Regions from separate parts of the Homo sapiens genome. Here region 2 is linked to region 1. The links are contacts of gene promoters, found by promoter capture Hi-C in human tissues and cell types (Jung and others, 2019). All regions are on one chromosome and are shown on one strand. The core of a region is centred on a gene start or on the middle of the fragment in contact, and the rest is flanking DNA. Distances in the headings are between cores, read along the strand shown. Region 1 holds the start of ADAMTSL5 (ADAMTS like 5). Region 2 has its middle 2.1 kb from the start of UQCR11.

Evidence for each region. Contacts are between HindIII fragments. The study calls those that stand out against the background at their distance.
Region 2: a fragment that was not itself captured here is called in contact with the fragment with the promoter of ADAMTSL5 in region 1 in 2 of the 25 tissues and cell types used here (dorsolateral prefrontal cortex and mesendoderm cells).

Annotation. Positions count from the first base shown.
Region 1 is chr19:1,511,721-1,514,646 of GRCh38, reverse strand. ADAMTSL5 (ADAMTS like 5) reads left to right here and starts at 1,628. Exons shown (of 12, transcript NM_213604.3): 1 at 1,628-1,684. RefSeq lists silencers at 515-594, 1,434-1,803. The HindIII fragment of the contact is 17,964 bases long and covers 1-2,926 here.
Region 2 is chr19:1,605,940-1,609,120 of GRCh38, reverse strand. No RefSeq gene overlaps it. Among named protein-coding and RNA genes, the nearest start is that of UQCR11, 2.1 kb to the right of the region's middle. RefSeq lists enhancers at 450-519, 550-599, 2,082-2,703, 3,159-3,181. The HindIII fragment of the contact is 3,073 bases long and covers 227-3,181 here.

The DNA.
Region 1 (2,926 bases), core at 379-2,878:
GTAGCTGGGATTACAGGCACTCACCGCCATGCCTGGCTAAGTTTTATATTTTTAGTAGATACTGGGTTTCACCATGTTGTCCAAGCTGGCTTCAAACTCCTGACCTCAGGTGATCCGCCTGCCTCGGCCTCCCACAGTGCTGGGATTCCAGGCATGAGGCGCCGCGCCCGGCCTGCCCTTCTCTCTTGACCCCTTCAGTGAGGGCCTTCTTGACATCCCCGCAACCACCACCCCCCAACCTGGGGCCATCAGTGGTGGGCCTGGGCTATTTTCTCCAATAGTCCAGGTCAGAAGGTGGGGGGTCATACATTCCAGGGGGCTGCCTTACCCGCTGGCCTGGGACTGGCTGGGTTGTTCACAGCTGTGCACACAGTAGGTGCTCAATAAATGGCATATGGGTGGCTCTGCTGACATGCTACAGGCTGGAGGGCAGACTGAGTTGGACCAGCAACACCCTGTATGTCCCCAGCAAACCTCTCTCCCTGTGGTCAGCGCTGTGGGACAGCAGGGTGGGCTTCCTGGAGGAGGGGGTGCTCAGACCGAGCCTGGGTGGAGCCCAGGGAGCAGGACAGTCCCTCCACCCCCTCCTTTAGTGCCCCAGTCCCTCAGCCCGCCCGCCAGGGGGCGCCGTGGGGCGACACCAGAAACTGGTGGAGCCCAGAACCCAGGGCCTGGTCTCATCCCTGCGTGGGTGGGCACGGGGCGGCTCACAGACGCCCGGCGGGAAAGGGTGGGGTGGGGGGAGTCCCGGGGTGCCCCCTCGCGTTGCCGGTCCGCGCAGAGCCGGATTCCAGATGGAAGGTTCGCGGTGGAGATCCCTGCCGGGCCCACTGCTGGGATGGGGAAACTGAGGCCGGAGAGGGTGTGGCCGCGGCTGTGAGGGAGAGGGACCGCCTGGACCCGGGTCTGGCTCTGAAGCCCCGCTGGCAGCCCCGGGGCCCGGCAGGGAGGGCGGGAGGCGGGGTGGGGCGCGTCCCCTGGTGACAGCAGCGCCCGGGAATGCGCCAGCTGGGAGGGTCTCTCCGCCCCCCGCGCGCGGCCCACGGGGCCGAGCCTCTCCCCAGTGCGCTGGGGCCCTGCGCTGGGGGTGACCGGGACCTGGGTCGGGGAACCCCCGGATGGGAGCCCAGGCGCGCCAGGGTCCCCATCCACGAGCAGGTCGACCCCCCGCGAGAGGGGTGAGGGGCAGGACCAGGGGAGGGGGCTGTGACCGGGGATGGGGACGCCGGTGGGACGCAATCCGGGCGTCGGCGGGGTAGGGGCAGCGCCCGGGACTCCCAGACCCAGGGCGGGGTGACCTCGGTTCGCGCACATTCCCGGGCCCTGAGCGCGGCGCCCGGAATAGCAGCCCCGGGGCAGAGGAGGGCGGTCAGTCCCCGCGCCGCGCCCCCGCCCGAGCCTGCCAAGGTCACCCGGACCCGGGCGCCCGACACCAGCCTGCGGCTCCGGGACCCCTGCGCTCGCGTCCGCCGGGCAGTCCCCTGCCGCAGATCCGCGCCCGCCGCGCGAGGGCGCCCGGGGCCGCCGCCCCTCCTGACCCGGGCCTGGGCGCGCCTGCGGAGGCCGCGGTGGGAGGGACCGTCCCAGGCTCCCCACCCCGCCCAGCACCTTGGGCCCCGCCGCTTCCGCTCGCCCTGGGGCCGCTCAGGGAGCCGGGACGCGCTGCCTGGGCTCCGCGCAGCCGGTAAGTCCATCTGCCTATCCTCCCACTTTCTCCGGGGGAAACTGAGGCCCAGAGGTGCGGCTTGCCTTGAGATCCCTCCGCCAGTCCGGGCTGCAGCCCACACGGGGAGGGGAGAGCCTTGATTCTGGGCAGGGCCCATTGAGGAGGGGGTAGGGTGGTCCTTGTAGCCCCCCACTTTTCACCACCTAGACCCCCACTCCTCAAACCAGGCTTAGAGTCCGGTGGGGGTGGTCAGAAGGTCAAGCCCCCTCCCCCTGTTTTTTTTGGTTGGTTGGTTGTTTTTGAGACTGAGTCTCACTATGTCGCCCAGGCTGGAGTGCATTGGCCCCATCTCGGCTCACTGCAACCTCCGCCTCCTGGGTTCAAGCGATTCTCCTGCCTTAGCCTCCCAAGTAGCTGGGATTACAGGTGTGCACCACCACACCGGGCTAATTTTTGTGTTTTAGTACAGATGGGGTTTTACCATGTTGGTCAGGCTGGTCCCAAACTTCTGACCTCAGGTGATCCGCCTGTCTTGGCCTCCCAAAGTGCTGGGATTACAGGCGTGAGCCACCGCACCTGGCCCCCCTCCCCTTGTTTTAAGTTTCTGGTGCAGACTTCTTCCTGCTTCCTGGGCCAGCCCAGGCTCTAGGCTCAGAGAGGGGCACGGATGCAGCAGACCACACAGCTGTCTCAGTACCTAGAGATACCCAGGACCCTAGACCCTTGGTGCCTCAGAAGTCCAAATGCTGGAGCCAGGGAAACAGGGTCCAGGTGGGACCCAGCCTCTTCCCCAGCTGGTGCCCGGGCCGGGGCTCACCCACCTGCCTTCAGGCTCTGCTGGCAGCAGGACGCCCTGGCTCACTTGGCGGCTGCTTCCCTTCCCCCCTCTTTCCCCCTGCAGGCTGGGGTCATGAGGAGGGTGTGGATGGCAAGTGACTTCATCCCTGCCCTGACAGGATGGAGAAACTAAGGCCCAGAGAGGCAGTCAGCCTCCTCCCCTTCCCTGCTCCAGCCTCAGCAGTGGCCCCTTCCCTCCACGGGCTGCCCCGGAGCTCAGTCCCACCCCCTCCGCCGATGAGGCCATGAGGCACCGAACGGACCTGGGCCAGGTCACCCCCTCCCTGTCCCATCCCCAATCCGGGGGACTCCCTGCTGTCTGGGAGCTGAGGGAGCCCTGGGGCCGGGGTGCAGCTGAGGGCCTCTTCTAGGGACCCAACTCCTGATCCAGCCCCTGCCGGCCGCACCTTCCGCAGGGTGTCA
Region 2 (3,181 bases), core at 514-3,013, 94 kb before region 1:
CCTGCATGTGTACTCAGGGCTCCAGGCCACCTGGAAGCAGGATTGGCTCCCGGGGAAAAGCAGCTCCCTGGGGGCTGCACTTGGGCGCGTAGGAACCATCCAGGACCTGCGGTCCTCCCAGCCCCCATCTGGGAGGGCTCCCCATCTCCCAACGTCCCCCCCCCGGGCTGTTGGAACCCACTTCCCTGCCCCTTCCTGCTCCGAAGTCGGCTCGAAGTCTGAGTCTGTCACTGCTCCTCTGAAACCTTCCACGGCTCCGTTGCTGGCAGCGTCAACCCCACACTCCTTAGTGCGGCATCTGTGACTTCCTCCACAACCGGATGCCCACGGAACCCACGGACAGAGCTCTCGGGGGGAAGGGGTGTGGCAGGACCTGTGGGGGCGCTGCTCATCCCAAAGTGCCCACTGGCAGGCATCTGCTGCTGTGCCCAGGGACTTGGCCGCTGCATCTCTGCGAGGACACAGCTGGACTGCCCTGCTCCCCTACAGGGTTGGGGTGGAAGGAGTGCCTTCCTGGCCACTTGACGGGGGGTGGCCCCCAGGAGAGAGCCCTTTGGCACACAAGTGCCTTAGGGAGGAGAAGGCTCAGCACAGTGACTCATATCTGTAATCCCAGCACTTCAGGTGGCTGAGGCGGGAGGATCGCCTGAGGCCAGGAGTTCCAGTCCAGCCTGGGCAACATAGTGAGACCCCATGTCTATAATTTTTAAGGGAAAGAGAGTGGCCAGGAGTTGACAGAAGGTGCTGAGGGAGCCCTGTCCACCACTCTACCCAGCTGGCCTCTAAATTCATGCTGGAAAACAACTTTTAAAATATACATTGGCCGGGCGCGGTGGCTAACGCCTGTCATCCCAGCACTTTGGGAGGCTGTGGCGGGTGGATCACTTGAGGTCAGGAGTTCGAGACCGGCCTGGCCAACATGGCGAAATCCCATCTCTACTAAAAATACAAAAATTAGCCGGGCATGGTGGCGCAAGCCTGTAATCCCAGCTATTTGGGAGGCTGAGGCAGGAGAATAGCTTGAACCCAGGAGGCAGGGATTGCAGTGAGCTGAGATTGCACCACTGCACTCTAGCCTGGGCGACAGAGCGAGACTGTCTCAAAAAATCAAAATTAAATTGGTTGTACCTGGTGACACACACTTGTAGTCCCAGCTACTTAGGAGGTTCAGGTGGGAGGATCGCTTGAGGTGGCAGTGAACTGTGATTGCACCACTGCACTCCAGCCTGGGCAACAGAGCCAGAACCTGTCAAAAAAAAAGGGTGGGCCAGGTGCAGTGGCTCATGCCTGTAATCCCAGCACTTTGGGAGGCCAAGGCGGGCGGATCACGAGGTCAGGAGATCGAGACCATCCTGGCTAACGGTGAAACCCCATCTCTACTAAAAATACAAAAAATTAGCCAGGCGTGGTGGCGGGCACCTGTAGTCCCAGCTACTCGGTAGGCTGAGGCAGGAGAATGGCGTGAACCTGGGAGGCGGAGCTTGCAGTGAGCCAAGATCATACCACTACACTCCAGCCTGCAGCCTGGGCGACAGCAAGACTCCGTTTCAAAAAAAAAGGGTGGAGGGGACATCCAGATGGTCCAACAAAATAACAAAAACCGGCTCAAGAAACAAAAAGGAAGTTCTATGTCATGTTGAATGGCTTCAGGCACAGCTGGATCCAGGTGTCATTACAAATCTCTCTCCATCTCTCAGCTCTTGTTTATGTCACTGTCTCTGATGAACTCTTTTTTTTGTCTGTTTGTTTTGAGACGGAGTTTCACTCTTGTTGCCCAGGCTGCAGTGCAATGGCGTGATCTCGGCTCACCGCAACCTCTGCCTCCCGGGTTTTCAAGCAATTTTCCTGCCTCAGCCTCCCGAGTAGCTGGAATTACAGGCATCCGTCACCATGTCCGGTTAATTTTGTATTTTTAGTAGAGATGGGGTTTCTCCATGTTGGTCACGCTGGTCTCGAACTCCCAGTCTCAGGTGATCTGCCCGCCTCAACCTCCCAAAGTGCTGGGATTATAGGCGTGAGCCACCGTGCCCGGCCACTGGTGAACTCTTACATTGTGGCATCTGGAAACTCTGGGCTGACATTCCAGCAGCCCTTGTGTTCCTGTCCTTTCTCTTAATAGTCTCTGTGTCAGCCCCTGCATCCCACTTTTTTAAGTTTCCACCAATGGGAAGAGTCTTATTCAGGTGCTCTCTGATCCCAAGCTCAAAAACCCCAAGCCAACTGGAAAGTTCTACAAACAATGCCCAGGGCCGGGCCCGGTGGCTTACACCTGTAATCCCAGCATTTTGGGAGGCGGATCACTTGAGGTCAGGAATTCAAGACAAGCCTGGCCAACATGGCCAAACCCCATCTCTACTAAAAATACAAAAACTAGCCAGGTGTGGTGGCTCACGCCTGTAGTCCCAGCTACTTGGGAGGCTGAGGCAGGAGAAGCTTGAACCCGGGAAGCGGAGGTTGCAGTGAGCCGAGATCGTGTCATTGCACTCCAGCCTGGGCCACAGAGCGAGACTCCGTCTCAAAAAAAAAAAGAAAGAAAAACAGTGCCCAGACTGTGGTGTCCAAAACCTATTTCCGGCTCCCACCCTGAGTCCTTAACCAGGGATAGGGATGGGTTAGCACCCGCAGTCCCCAGAGAGCTGCAGGCTTGGGGTGTACTGAGGGGCTGACCCCAGGAGGACAGGCCAGGCTGGGCAGAAGAACCCACGGTGTCCATTCCTTATCACGAGGCCTGCAAGTGACGCTGGCGCCCGAGAGACAAATCACGCCCAGTGCCCCGTCTAGGCTATGGCCTTTCCGTTCATGCTGTAAAGGTGCCTGTGGGTCAGGCAGTCCAGGAGGGCTTCCTGAGGGAGGCAACTCTTGAATATGGGGGAAAAGGCACAAAAGTGCAATGGCGGTGTCTGGGAATATGCCCCTCTTCCTTCTGCCCACACCGGCCCGGTGTGCAGGGGGGAGGCTGGAAGCTGGGAGCTGAGTGAGCATGTACGGTGCTGCGCCGGGTTGTGGGAGAGCAGAGGAAGCAGGGACTGGAGAAAGGCGAGCCCAAGCGAGCCTGGTGCGGTGGAAAGCAGGAGGCAGAAAGACCTGCCTGTCATCAGCTAAGAGCATCCAGAGACGTTCACCGAGCAAGGAGCCAGGCCACCCTCTGCTGCCGGAATGAGGAATAACCCAGGCTCGCAAA